Regions from separate parts of the Homo sapiens genome. Here region 2 is linked to region 1. The links are contacts of gene promoters, found by promoter capture Hi-C in human tissues and cell types (Jung and others, 2019). All regions are on one chromosome and are shown on one strand. The core of a region is centred on a gene start or on the middle of the fragment in contact, and the rest is flanking DNA. Distances in the headings are between cores, read along the strand shown.

What was found. The method cuts DNA at HindIII sites, captures the fragments that hold promoters and counts their contacts. A contact is called where the count stands out against the background at its distance.
Region 2: a fragment that was not itself captured here is called in contact with the fragment with the promoter of ILKAP in region 1 in 1 of the 25 tissues and cell types used here (small bowel).

Annotation. Positions count from the first base shown.
Region 1 is chr2:238,200,920-238,208,521 of GRCh38, reverse strand. ILKAP (ILK associated serine/threonine phosphatase) reads left to right here and starts at 4,827. Exons shown (of 12, transcript NM_030768.3): 1 at 4,827-5,023. The coding sequence starts at 4,969. RefSeq lists enhancers at 3,946-4,818, 5,781-5,840 and silencers at 4,631-5,200, 5,321-5,410. The HindIII fragment of the contact is 8,585 bases long and covers 2,004-7,602 here.
Region 2 is chr2:237,896,532-237,904,133 of GRCh38, reverse strand. All of the region lies in intron 2 of RAMP1 (receptor activity modifying protein 1), which reads right to left. Among named protein-coding and RNA genes, the nearest start is that of RAMP1, 41 kb to the right of the region's middle. RefSeq lists enhancers at 4,972-5,081, 5,162-5,211, 5,179-7,602. The HindIII fragment of the contact is 6,975 bases long and covers 1-6,631 here.

The DNA of each region.
Region 1 (7,602 bases), core at 3,578-6,077:
AAGGAACAGTTAAAAGCCATTTCCCATCAATGCTCTGTTTGCAAAAAAGCTTCACCCCACTTCAACACTAGACCCTCTTCTTTTCTAACCCATCAATCCAAGGGACACCTTCCAGAACAGGACTGGCAAATTGGTTTTACCCACATGCCCCCAGTAAAAAGGGTTTGATTTCTTTTAGTTCTGGTTGATACCTTTTTGGTACGGGTCGAGGCCTTTCCCACAACCAACAAACGAGCTCCTACTCTCCAAATTAATAACAGAAATCATCCCCAGGTTCGGGGTGCCTCTTTCTTTTCAATCTGATAATGGCCCTGAATTCATTTCTCAAATTATTCAAACACTTGCACAAGCCCTACAAATCACCTGGAAGTTGCACCTCCCCTCTCGACCTCAATCTTCAGGAAAGGTTGAAGAAATGAATGGCATTCTACAAAAACACCCTCACCAGGTACTCACACCAAACACATAAAGACTGGGTTACACTTTTGCCTTTAGCCCTTCTAAAAATTCGGGTGCTCCAATGTAAACTTCTAACGCTCAGCACCTTTGAACTCATGTATGGGAGACCATTTGCCCCTCTGCTCCACCTCAGGGTCAAGCCCCACCTCCACCAATCCCTCTCATTTCCCCTCTTGTACATACCATCTGCCATTTCATTTAGGAATATGCTGACAAATACCTGCCACAACCCATCACCGACTCCTTTAATCCCTCCCTACAGCCAGGAGACTGGGTTCTGGTAAAATACCCCAGTCCTACCCTCAATTCCTGCTTCACACCTAAGTGGAAGGGACCTTACCAGATCATCCTTACCACACCCACAGCACCGAAACTCCAGGGACTCCCCAGCTGGTTTCATTGTACTTCTCTCAAGAAAACAGACTTCCCTTCACCACATACCCAAACAACCAAGTCTGAAACCCCTTCGGCCTTCTCTCGTGTCTCCCAGGACCCACTTCTCTTCGCCTCACCCAAATCCCTGAGGAAAAGGAGGAGAAATCCACATAAGCCGCTTATGTCTCTTTCTCTCCCAAACTTTCATCACTTCCTAACTAACCTTGTTACAGACCTTCAGTGGTGCCCTTAGGAAGCTCCCATTATACATCCTGATCAGCTCGTTACTGCTCTATGGGACCTATGGCTTCAAGGAACTTTCCAGGACTTTACTCCTACCCAAATAACTTTTTTCGCTTTTTGCTTGTTTCTTTCAATATAAATTCCCTAATCACATCAACCTCATCAATACAACCACTCCTCACTGCTCTCAAACTAGAACGCTCTATAAACCTTACACAATCTCTCTTGCGGCAAGCTAACTCTTCCTTTGCTCTGGAATGCTGGGTGTGTTTATCGCTGTCTTCCTTAGCTTACACAGCCCTTCCTACATTCCTTCATGACCTTTTAACAGGAAACACAACCCTAATTTATAAACTCCAAAAAGGAGCTTCCTTTTTTGAAAGAGCTGACACTCTAGTCGGTGATTATCCCACTTCCAGGGCCGATCAGGCCAACAAATTATTTCAAACCTAGGATAACTCCCTACAGCGCCTTAAGCCCCACGGCCCTCCCATTGAAGGGCCCATAACTAAACACACTCCTCCTCTTATAATGAGCCTCACTTTGCTTTTCAGCCTCGGAGGGAAATTTCCCTGTAGGGTCCTTAACATCTAACCTATGCAACCACACTATCATTGTTAAACACCCCTCTGACCATCAAACTAACCAGGCTAACTACCAAGTATCACCTGAAGCGAACGGAGCATTTCTGCAGCTGGCTCGTTTGACAGCCTTTCCCTCAGCCAATGCCTCCAGCCTAACCTGTGCTGCTCCTAGTGCCCACAATTTTCCTTGGCTCAATATCAATAGTGCAGCATCCGACCGCATTAAATCTGTAAAAAATAACTCTTCCTATACCTCTAGTATAGTAGGTGTCTCCCAGGCCTCCTCCTTGTCCACCTGGAGTAATGAACCACAGGAAAGAACAAACACCTCATCTTTAATTCACTTATTTTCTGTCCATATCTCTGCTTGTATTTACAATAAAGGCTTGTTCTTTTTGTGTGGTCTCAACACATATTTCTTTGTCTCCCCATCAACCAGACCAGAACCTGTACCCTAGTTTATCTTTCTCCCTCCATTGGACTAGTTCCTCCTAATCAATCTTTACCCGTTCCATCCATCCAATATGTTAGGAAGAGGAGAGCCATCCACGTCATTCCTTTAATGGCTGCCTTAGGTATAACCTCCGGGCTTGGGTTGGGAGCAGGCTGATTCGCCACCTGCTTAACATACTTGAAATCTCTTTCAACAGAACTGCAGAGTTCATTAGAGCATATGGCCCAAAGCCTTATAAGAGTCCAAGGCCAACTAGACTCCTTGGCTGGAGTAGACTCCTTGGCTGGAGTAGTCCTCCAAAATAGACAGGAATTAGATGTTATAACAACTGAAAGAGGGGACCTCTGCCTCTCATTCGGTAAAAAATGTTGCTTCTATCTCAATCAGTTGGGCCTAGTAAGAGACGCTGCTAAAAAACTTAAAGAAAGGGCTAAAAAGCTAAGAGAATAACAAGACAACCAAATAAATTACTGGTTTAAAAACAAAGTCCTAATATGGGTCATCCCATTCCTGGGCTCTCTCCTAAAAATATGCCTAGGAATAATGTTCTTACCCTGCTTAATTAACCTTTTTCTAAGTTTTTTTTATTTTTTTGAGACGGAGTCTTGCTCAGTCGCCCAGGCTGGAGTGCAGTGGCGAGATCTCGGCTCACTGCAAGCTCCGCCTCCTGGGTTCACACCATTCTCCTGCCTCAGCCTCCCAAGTAGCTGGGACTACAGGCACCCGCCACCATGCCTGGCTATTTTTTTTTTTTTTTTGTATTTTTAGTAGAGACGGGGTTTCACCATGTTAGCCAGGATGGTCTCGATCTCCTGACCTCGTGACCCACCCGCCTTGGCCTCCCAAAGTGCTGGGATTACACGCGTGAGCCACCGCGCCTGGCCACCTTTTTCAAAGATTTTTAACCAGCAGGATCATGGCCATCTCACAGACAATTACCCAAAAACATCTACAGACAGCGTTACTCCTACAATCAATCTGAAACCAAAGAACTCTCTGCTCACTCCCCCAGCAGGAAGTAGCCAGAAAAAATGCGCTGCCCCTTGTCCTTTTCATAACTATAGAGACTGGATTGATAGAGCAGGAGCATTGCCATCTTGGACAAACACCACCTTTCTAAGTTCCCCTTGATTAAAAAACCACCTAAATCCTACCCCAAAACATCAGCCTAACGGCTAATGTCAGCATAACCAGAAATATTCCAACCCTAAGATAAACCTCTCTTCAACCAGAAACATGCTAACCCTGAAATAACCTCTCCTCCAATAGCCTCCCCTCCGACCAGAGACATTCCAACCCTGCAATAAACGTTCCCCCACTTCCAAAACCCTTAAATATCCTTAGTCTGTAAGAGAGAATGCTTAGTCTGTAAGAGAGAGCGCTCCTGATCGAAATTGGCCAGAATCCCCTCTCAGGTTTATTCTCTGAAATAAACCTTTTAATGTTGAGCCGCTTTTTGTATTTATTTCCTCTTTCTTTAACGGTTACAAGCATTGTTACTTGAGTGTTTCTGCTGTAATGGAGGAGGCAGCATGAATATCTCAAACGGTTGCTAGTGAGAAGCCACGCAGATGAGAGGCATGAAGCCTTGTTGGGCTCCCTCCATGTCCTACAGCCAGAGAGCGTCAGAAATACATCTGCCCCAGAATGAACTGGGCTGAAAACTCTTTGCATGGAGGGAGACCACATAACCTGGGGAACTTGGGTAAACGATGTTGGAACGGAGGTGTAAGATTTGGGTTTGTGTTAGTTGATTTGGGGAAACATTTATGGAAACGGGCCTTTGCTCCGGATTGGATGTCAGGAAGAGGAGGATTCCATGATTGGATATCTTGATGAAGCTTATCTAGACGGCAGGAGGACGAGACAAAGGCTAAACATGTAATGGTAAAGAAGCAGCAATCACTCTTATTGGCCAAGACGAGGGGAATGTGGTCACTTTTGTGGCTTGGACAGTGTTCCTGTTTTGTCTGTGTTCACACTTGATTACACAGTGGTCTGTTTTTTTCTCTTGATCTGTATCACGGCCTGATGTTGGTGTTTTATGAAATTGTTCACATTCAAAGAGAACACCCAGGCCTAGCTGTTTGTGCCAGACCAACCCCAAGTCCTGGCTGCAGAACCAGGCCAGCTCCCCGATGTCAGTGGCCGCCTTTCTCTTTACAGGCATGGAGGGGGACACCATTAAGGAGGAGCCCCTCTTCTCCGCTCCCCACAGACACCAGTGGGTGCAGACAAGTCAGGGAATGCCTCCTTTCCCTCCGGCATCTTTTGAGGTTTCCGTCCTGACGCCCAGGGCCGCTCCATCCAAGCCTCGGTTTCTCAGTCTCTAAAACAGGCCAGAAACCAGGCACGCCGTGGTGAAAGGACGAGCCGAAGAGATGGCAAGAGCTCCAGAAAGCCTTCCCAGGCATCAGGGGCTGCCCTTGAGCTCAGACGTTTCTCTCTGGACAGGGCTTCTTGGACAGGAACTCAACGAAACTTGACAGAAATCGGACACCCCCAGCCAAGGAAAAGCAGGAGGGGCCCGGGGTTCGCCAAGGCGGGAAACACCGCGGGGCCCAGACGGCGCCGTCCGCCCGGCTCGCAGTCGGGGCGCGGGAGGGGCCCACGCGCATGCGCACCGCCCCGCCCCCAGCCGCCCCGCCCAGCCCGCGCGCAGCCCTCTGGGGCGGCCGGGCCACGCCGCGCGCCGATTGGTGGCGTCCGGGACTCTCCCTGCAGGTGACTGACGGCGCCGGCCGCCCCTGCCCGTCGCCCGCCCGCTGCTGCCGCCCGCCCGGGGTGTGGAGCCCGGCCGCTGCTCGCGGGCTGAGTGTCTGTCGCTGCTGCCGCCTCCACCCAGCCTCCGCCATGGACCTCTTCGGGGACCTGCCGGAGCCCGAGCGCTCGCCGCGCCCGGCTGCCGGTAAGCGGCGTTGCCGCCGGGCCGGCCAGGGAAGGGAGAGCAGGCGGGATGGGGGCGGCCTGAGGCCCGGGGCGGCTGAGGCGGCGCCCGCGCTGGGAGGCGGCGGGCGGCGCGGGCTGCACGGGGCCTGCTCCTGCCTGGCCAGGCCCCGTCCGGCCCACTGGCGGCCCTGTCGGAGGCCCGGTCGCTCGCGGAGCTCGGAGAGGCCGCTCCGCCATTTTCGCTACGCAGGAAGGAAAGGGCCGAGCCGTCGTGGCCACGGCCCCTCTGCGTGGCGGTGAAAGGCGCCGGCGCGACCGCGTGGGCCGACCCGAGGGACCGGCTCTGAACGCCCGGCGGCACCGCGGGCCCCCGCGCCCCGATTCCACCCGCGGCCTGGGCTGCCTTGCGCGTCGCCCGCCCGCGGCTTCCGGGCCGCACTTCACCCGCGGGCTGTGGAACGGCCGCGTTCCGGGCCGGTGCAAGTTCAGGGGCTTGGCGTTTTTATTTGCACTGGAGATTGAATTAATCACCATCTTAATCCTTCGTGTTTTTGAAGCCTGGAAGACAGGATGCCTCCTCTGTCATCCTGTGATTTTGTGATAATTAACAGTAGTTTTTTTTTTTTTTTTCTGGTCCACGGGAAGTTCCCCCTCTCCTTGAAGTTAAGGGGTCCGCTCATCTCCTAAGCGCTGGCCCCTGCCAGTGGGAGTCCCTGTGGGCTGTGGTTTGAGCTCAGCATCCTAGCAGCTTGAAACAGGGCCTGTGTTAATCCCTGCGTCCTGTGGGTTACAGTCTCCGGGTTTCATCTGTCAAAACGCGTGAATATTTCATATGCAAGACTTCCAGCTTGATGTTGTAGTTTAGGGCCTTATTACAAAATTTAACTTGGGGGCAGAAAACCTGGAAAACTTAAGACGTTCAGATTTCCAGGCCCACCTCAGCCCCAGTAAATCCGAATCCCTGAGAGTGGGGTTTCCGAATCTGTTACTAAATCCCCAGGCCAACCCAGCGGGGGCTGGAGACCAGTGGTTTGGGAGCTGCTGTTGTAGGGTAGACGGAGGTGAGTAAGGCCCAGCCTTCGCTTTCTAAGAGCTGCTTTCTGAAGGGTACTAATTACGGTAATTAAAACTGGCAAAAGTTAATGACTGTGGGAAATGCTGAGGACTCTTGAGGAGGGATTGTCGGGCACCGAGAGACTGGGGAAGGAGGCAGTGTTTGAATTGAGCTTCCAAGGATGTTCAGGCTTGTGATTTGCAGTAATTCTGGGCGAGAAAACATTTTATTTTATTTTACTTTTTGAGACGGAGTCTCACTCTTGTCGCCCAGGCTGGAGTGCAATGGTGAGATCTGAGCTCACTGCAACCTCCGGGTTCAAACAATTCTCCTGCCTAGGCCTCCCTACTAGCTGAGATTACAGGCGCCGACCACCACACCCGGCTAATTTTTATATTTTTAGTAGAGACGGGGTTTCACCATGTTGGGTAGGGTGGTCTTGAACTCCTGACCTCAGGTGATCCGCCCGCCTCGGCCTCCCAAATTGCTGGGATTACAGGTGTGAGCCACCGTGCCCTGCCCCCACTGACCGTTCTGATGGTACAGAGCATCTCAGTAACTGGTCCTGGAGTCTTTGAACTTGACTCAGCCATTCATTTTCAAAATAACCACGGTTTTAGCTGTGGGTAAAAATTGGATTTGTGTAGCAGTCTTTTTTCTCTTGTCAATGGAGTATAATTTCTATCTGAATATATTTGGGACAGCATTTGGATTCACCAGTGTGCGTGTAAACCTATGAGTCTTAAAATCTCCATTGCTTTTTACCTGCAATTAATTAGGTTCTGCTCAGGAGCAGGCTCCCTTGACTGACAAAAAACCTGGCAACTCAGAATCTCATAGGTTGGCACCTTAGCAGCCTTTTGCCAGATACAGTGGGAAAGGTACATCCTGTTGCCGTTTTTTCCAAACTCAGTTTCCAACCTTGACTGAGCTGAAAGGGTGGCAGAGGGGGTGCATGGTGTTTAAACTGCTGACCACCCTGAGATTGGATTGGTCAGCTGCTCCCCATCTGCCAGGAGGGCACTGACATTGTCAACAGGTCCTGCTTGGCTGAGTGTATTTTTAAAAATAGCTTTAAAACGAAGAAGATCTCAGAATTTGTAGATGATTGGAAGCTGAGAGGGATAAGTACTAAAATGAGTGACAATTGGGATCCATAGTTATCATTGCAGGCTGTTAGCTACAACCAACAAGATGAGATTTGACAGGTTAAAATCGTTTGTACAAGAACAGAATCTGGTTTCACATACTTGTGAAAATACTGTGATTTAAAAAAAAAAAACATACTTTGAATAAATCATATTGATTGCTAAAGTGAATGGAATAATGAGTCTAAACTGTGCATCATGACCCTCACACATGATATGTGGGTACCACAAATCTCTAATGCAGTGAACAATAAAAGACCTCGTTATTTTCCCAGAGCGCAAGAAAAGTTGTTCAGAAAGTGTAACCAGACTACTTGGTTTAGAATCCAGCTCTTCGCTTACTAACTGTGCCTTCTGTGGCTATTCCTACATGTGTAAAAAGGGGTGACACTTGCC
Region 2 (7,602 bases), core at 1,895-4,394, 300 kb after region 1:
CCCAATATTTCTTCTAGAAATACAAATGACTACTAAGCATGTGAAATGAAAGACCAAACATCCAGATGGCACTCCTCTTAAAAAGGAGAATGCTAGGCTGGGCGTGGTGGCTCACACGTGTAAACCCAACGCTGGGGGAGGCCTAGGCCGGAGGATTGCTTGAGCCTAGGAGTTTGAGAGCAGCCTGGGAAACATAGTGAGACCTTGTCTCTACAAAAAAATACAAAATGGCTAACACAGTGAAACCCCAACTCTACCAAAAATACAAAAAATTAGCCGGGCGTGGTGGCGGGTGCCTGTAGTCCCAGCTACTCGGGAGGCTAAGGCAGGAGAATGGCGTGGACCTGGGAGGTGGAGGTTGCAGCGAGCGGAGATCGCACCACTGCACTCCAGCCTGGGTGACAGAGCGAGACTCTGTCTTAAAGAAACAACAACAACAAACATTTGCCAGTGCTGGGATGCACCTGTAGTCCCAGCTAGTTGGGAGGCTTAGGTCAGAGGATCACATGAGCCCAGGGAGGTGGGAGATTGAGGCTGCAGTGAGCTATGTTCCTGCCACTGCACTCCAGCCTGGGCAACAGAATAAGACCCTGTCTCAAAAAAAAAGAAAATAATGCTGAATGCTAGTGAAGGTGTAGGATACTGAGGCAGGCACTCATAGCAATCCTCAGGGAAGATAAACTGGTACAATTTTTCTGAAACACAATTTGGCAATATGTATCAATAATCTCAAACTCACGGATGCCTCTTGACCCCGTAATTGCATTACTGGGAATTATCCTAAATTAATAATGTGAAATATAGATAACAGTGATGTAAGAAGGTGTCCACTGCAGATTTATAATTATGAAAAACAGCAAACAACAGGACAGCGGTCACAGAAATTGTTTATGAGTGGCTCCATTATGTAGCTGTTAAAATTATATTTAGGAAGAAAATTTTAAGATGTGGAAAAACATTTATGTTCTAAAGCTGGGCAGAAGAACAGCTCTCATGCCTGTGATCCTAGCACTTTGGGAGGCTGAGGCAGGAGGATCGCTTGAGGCCAGGAGTTCAAGACCAGCCTGGGCAACCTAGTGAGACCCAGTCTCTCTGCTAAATAAATAAATAAAGTTTTGAAAAGCAGCAGCAGGTTAGACCAGGTGCCATAAACAGCCTGGATTGGGGTAAAATGGTCCACATGGGAGGGGGACACAGCAGAATGTCACAGGAGTGATCCCCACCAGAATGGTAATAACACGAAGGACTTTTCTCTCAACTTTTTTGGGTTTTCTACCTTGAGCATACATACTTTTTATAATTATATTTAACAGCTCATTTTAGCAGGAAGGCTCACAGGAAACTAGATGTTGGCGTCACTGCATCTGCAGCCACCGTGCCTGGTGTCTGGGGCAGCCTGGGTCTTCCCACCAGAGGGCTCTGATGTGCAGGCAGGGCTGGGACCCTCTGGTGACAGCGGCTCATGGGGGAGGCGTGCAGGGCAGACAGGGAGCGGGGACGGGGCGTTGGGCCTCTCCAGTCTCAGTGGCCTCCTGCGTGGAACTGGGGGCCCCGCGGGACCCAACTCTGAGGCAGGAAGGGGCTCTGTGGAAGGGTGAGTGGGGGTGCGGGGTGGGCCCTGGGGGCAGGACCCCACTTTCCTCCTCGCTGTGTTCCCCCCACCCCCTCTGCGGAGACCTCTGCGTCCTCCTGGTCCTCCTGTTCCCTCCTCCATCTCCCTGTCCTTCTGGCCCCTCCTCTTCCTCCTGATCCCTCTCTCCTCCTGGCCTCTCCCTCCTCCTCCCAGCCCCTCCTCCACCCCCTGATCCCTCCCTCCTCCTCCCAGCCCCTCCTCCTCCTCCCGATCCCTCCTTACCCCTCCCTCTTCCACCTCGCCCTTGCTCCAGGCCCCCACCTCATCCTCACTCCAGCCTTGCTCCGGGTGGCAGTGGGGCATCCTCACTCACTGAAGACCCCGGGCCCTTACCAGCCCCCGGAGGAGAGGCATCCCCCGCGAAGTGCTCCTTCTCTCTCGGCCTTGGGCTGCACCTGAGAGTTCCCCATTCTCCCTCCTCCACCTGAAGCCTGGGCTGTTCACTTCTGGCTGTGAACACATGTGACTCAGGGCCCCCATGCCATGCCTATCCCCTGAGTTATCATGGCTCCCCTTTCCCTCAAGGGTGCCCTCCCCTCCTGAGGCCCCATCACTGTGCCCAGGATGGGGCAGAAGTGACTCGTCCTGGTGGATGGGTTATTACAACTTACATACCAGCTTCCACTTTTCTGTAGTGAGTATGTGGGGGCTTGGCATCTATCTACCCCTTCTTCTGCCTCCCCCAGTTTAGTCAGGGGCAGCCATCAAACCCCTCCACCGCCCTCCACTCTGCATGCTGGGCTTAGCTACCACGGGCTCTCCAGGCCACATCCCACACCCTGGCCGCTGCCCAAGCCCACCGTCCACACCTTCCCACCCCTGCTTCACGCCTTCAGTGCTCACCATTACACCTGTCCCAGATTCAGAAGCTTCTGTGTGGGTCACTCAACTGGGTCCCCTCCCTCCTGCTGGCCACATTCTAGCCACAGTGGCCAGTGTTCTGCCTCAGGACCTTTGCACATGCTGTTCCTTTTAACTGGAAAGCTCTTAGCCTCATCTTCACAAGGCCACCCTATGCTCGCCCTTCGCTTAAATGTCACGTCCTCAAAGAGGCCTTTTCTGGATGCTTCAATCATATTTGGCTTCCCCAGCAAAGTGGGGTTTTCCTTCATAGATGGGTGTTACTTTGTGGCTGTCCATGAACTCATGTGATTATTCACCCACTGTTGGTCTCAACAACCAGACTGCAGACACCACCGGGGCAGGGAGGGTAAGAGCAAAAATCCCCCTTACTCTGGTCACAGTGGCCACCTCCAAGGCAAAGTGAAACAAAGCCTGAAGGAAGACAGCGAGAGAGGGATGTACCCAGGAGACGCAGACAGAAGGTGAGCAGGGGTGTGGGCTTCCCAGCAGACCTGGCCCAGGCCGGTGAGAAGGGCCATCAGTGGGGCTGATGGGGATGCTCCACCCAGGACAGCTGGCACTGCGCCACAGCGTACAGACAGCCCGCAGCTGCCAGGAACGCAAGACACGTGGGAGACTTAAACACACCTCCCAAGGCTAGGTAGATAAACAGTAGCATAAAGTGATTATGAAAAATAATGTTAATAAACCGATGCAGTGACTGTCTGATAAAGGTTCTATTCTACAGAGACTCAGCCGGCTTTTCAAAGGCCCCTGGGTCTGTGTTAGGCGGCAAAAAGAGACTCATCAAATCCCCAGAGTATAAATCATAAGTCAATATTCTCAGGCTACAATACTGAAAACTAAAAATTAGTTTTAAAAAAAGGATAAATTTAAAAAAATGGAATTCCTAGAAATGAAAGATCATTTATATAATTTCGAAGTCACAGGAGAATTTAAAAATTCAATTACAAAATATTAAGAGAACAAGATCGGCAATACTATATGTACAAATGAATGGAATGGGGCAAAAGTGAATTCTGAGAAAAATTAATAGTTATAAATTATTTTATTAAACAAAAATAAATGAAAATAAACAAAATAAGTATCCAAAGCAAGATATTTTTTAAAAAGAACAAAATAAATCTCTCCAAATGGCACATAATTTGTCCATCAATAATTATTAGAAGCAATATAGGCCAGGTGCGGTGGCTCACGCCTGTAATACCACCACTTTGGGAGGCCGAGGTGGGCAGATCACTTGAGCTCAGGAGTTCAAGACCAGCCGGGGCAGCATGGCGAAACCCCATCTCTGCTGAAAATATCAAAATTAGCCAGGCATGGTGGCACACACCTGTAGTCCCAGTTAACTTGAGTGGCTGAGGCACGAGAATGCCGTGAACCCAGGAGGCAGAGGTTGCAGTGAGTCGAGATCGTGCCACTGCACTCCAGCCTGGGCGACAGAGCCAGACACTGTCCTAAACAAACAAACAAATAAACAAAAAACAAAAAACAGAAAAGAAAAAGAAGAAGTATAAGAGATTAATACGTAAAAAAGGTTTGTTAAAAATTGGAAAATCCTCAGTGAATTGGGATACTTTTTGGTTAAATTATAAACTATCAAATATCGACTTAAAAAGGAGGAATTCCAAGAAGAAAAATGGCAAATGTTATTAAAGAATTGCTGTTTCAAAAGGCACTAGATCCCAGGCAGTTCTTTCAAATTCTTTTTTTTTCTTTTTAATTGAGACAGGTTCTCACTATGTTGCTCAGGCTGGTCTCAAACTCCTGGGCTCAAGCGATCCTCCCACCTCGGCCTTCCAAAGTGCTGGGATTACAGGTGTGGGAGGCGTGAGCCACTGCAAATTCTTAAAGTGAAAGAAAAAGATGTGCAGCTTCCCAGTTCATTTAAAAAAGTTAACAAACCCTGATCCCAAGCCTCTTGAGATGGCATGACATGCGTCTCAACGCATGCGCACACGGACGGAACAGATGCCCTTCGCTTCCACCTATAAATAGACACTCAAGTCCCCTACCCAATGCTAACAAACTTCATCTAGCCACATAGCATATTTTATTTAAAGGAGGGCTAATTTCAGGAATGCTTTAAACCTGTTACTACAAAATCACACTTTAATACACCATGGGAAAAAAATGTACCGTCATTTTAATACGCATTGAGAAGGCATTTGAGAAAACTCAATATTCTTTTCTGATTTTAAAAAAGCCACAACCTTGAAAACACAGAAAGAAGCTATTTTCTTCATGTGATAAAAATCTCTCTCTCGGCCAGGTGCAGTGGCTCACGCCTGTAATCTCAGCACTTTGGGAGGCCGAGGCGGGCGGGTCACCTGAGGTCAGGAGTTCGCGACCAGCCTGGGCAACACGGTGAAACCCCATCTCTACTAAAATACAAAAAATTAGCTGGGTGTGGCAGCGTGTGCCTGTAGTCCCAGCTACTCAGGAGGCTGAGGCAGGAGAATTGCTTGAACCCGGGAGGCGGAGGTTGCAGCGAGCGGAGATCATGCCACTGCACTCCAGCATGGGTGACAGAGTGTGACCCAGTCTCAAAGAAAAAAAAAAAATCACTGTCTCAAACCAATAGCATGCACCCCATTTAGGACTGGAACACAGTGGCATTTTCGTGGCAGCCAGCAACAGGCTTATTTCGCATTTAGGCAGCCAGGGCTGGCTTCTCCCTTGTGGTTTCTGCCTTTGGTGTCAGGGCTCACACCCAGGATTCTGTGAATAGCGGGACCTTTCCAAAGCAGGGAGGGGCTGGCCACTTACTGCGCCACTTCCTCTGTTGACAGAGAGCCACGCTGTGGCCTGGCCTGGCGTGCGTCAGGTGTGGAGCAAGCACAGGGCCAGCTTGTCTTTAAGAGGCCTCAGCCCGGGCCCTGGGGATGTGAAAGCCCACGCAGTGTAGCTTCCCACCTACGTCTGCGTGTGTGAGCTCGGGAGCCTGGCTTCCTGTCTCACTTCTGCCCAGCACTGCTGGAGGCAGCAGAGAACTGGGCACCTTTTGTTTTTCTTGACACTGGGGAAATGTATAAGGAAGTCTTGTTAACTGTTTGATGAAAAGCACTTCAGCACACTGTGCTGGCCTGGGAAATGTGTGCTGGGCCAGCAGGCTCTGAGCCAGCTGTGCACACCTGGAACTCCTACGGGTGAGTGGCTGCTCCCATCCCCCTGGGACTGGCAGCACGCGTGAGGGAAAGACGGATATTGTACTATCAAACCCTTCCTAAATCAGGCTGGTCAGAGAGTACAATCAAACTAGGGAAAAGGCCAAGCATTAGAAGTCCTATGTACCTGTGCCAGCCCAGGGATGCCTACACATTTGACCTACTGCATTGCTGAGACAGGAATGCTTTGAAATAAGTGTCATCACTGCATGCAAATGAATATGTTAAACAGGAATTTTCCCCAGGCTCTGACTATGGTTTATCTATTTAAGTTGTATTAACAGGGACTTCTGACATCTTAGCAAAGCCATTTTCCCAACAGCATAAGGGGAAATGCCAACTCCATCCCTTTCCAAAGAATTACAGCATCTGGCCAGGCACAGTGGTTCCCGCCTGCAATCCCAGCACTGTGGGAGGCTGAGGAGGGTGGATCACCTGAGGTCAGGAGTTTGAGACCAGCCTGGCCAACATGGTGAAACCCAGTCTCTACTAAAAATACAAAAATTAGCTGGGCGTGGTGGTGCACGCCTGTGGTCCCATCTACTCAGGAGGCTGAGGCAGGAGAATGGCTTGAACTCGGGAGGTGGAGGTTGCAGTGAGCTGAGGTTGCACCACTGCACTCCAGCCTGGGAGAAAGAGCGAGACCCCATCTCAAAAAACAAACAAACAAACAAAAAACAAAACCCCCCCCCAAAAAACCAAAACAAACAAAAAAAGAAGAATGACAGCATCCACGAGAGCATGTGTTTCTGAGGTTTCCACTAAGACACGTGGATCTGTAAACAAGAAGCCTCACCATAGGCTTCTTGCAAATACTTCGCCAAATCATGGAAGCCAATTCCATTCCACACCTTTGTTACCAGCTAAATATTGCACTTTACCACTGACTAGGTGCTTGCTGAACAAGGAGGACAAAGGCCTCTCTCTTGCAGGAAAAGGAACAACATGAATAACGCACCAAAGAAAGAATCTTGGGAGGGTTCAAGGAAACAGGAGGAAGACAGATGAAACGGGGCTCAGTGTTCTCGCTGCTGTGGAGGAGGCCACAATTCCTCCTGCAACACTCGCAGTGACTGTAGAGCATGCTGATGAAGCCGGAGAAAATGGCCAGCCCTCTCTGCACGTTGAGCAGGGAAGGCAGACACGGGACCACCTGTGGCCTTATTCTCACCTCCCCTCGCTCATGGCCTGTCTGGGCCTCAGGCTCTGTCCTGTCCCATGTCATCTGCTCTTTCAGTCTCCCTCTTTCCTGGCCTGAAGTGAAGCTGGTTCTCCCATTCCTGGGATGGAGGCTGAGGCCCAGGCGGGGCCCGTGGTTGCATGCGGGGCTCTGGGGTCCACCTGGACGGATGCACACCTCATGATAGCTGAGTGCCACACGGGAGCATCCGGTGAGCTGCAGGCATGTAAAAGAGGGACCCACTGAGGCTGGGGCAGGTGACCCCACCATCCCCACGGACAGCACATCACACCCCCAGGACATTTAAAGGCCTGGCCCCTCTGCTGTCCAAAAGTCTAAGAGGCTGGGTGCAGTGGCTCACGCCTGCAACCCCAGCACTTTGAGAGGCCAAAACAGGAGGATCGCTTGAGCCCAGGAGTTCCAGACCAGTCTGGGCAACACAGAGAGACTCCCCCATCTCTACACAAAGTTTAAAAGTTAGCCAGGAGTGGTGGTGTGTGCCTATAGTCCTGGCTACTTGGGAGGCTGAGTCAAGAGGGTTGCTTGAGTCCAGGAAGTCAAGTCTGCAGTGAGCTAAGATCATGCAACTGCATTCCAATCTAGGCGGCAGAGTGAGACCCTGCCTTAAAACAAAACAAAACAAAGTCTAAGAAAATACTAAGACCTGTTTCCCCGCGTGAGTGTGCTTCTCACATCACCCGAGGGCAGGTGTTCTTACCCCCTCCTTACAGAAAAGGGCGCTTGCTGAGGTGATGGGG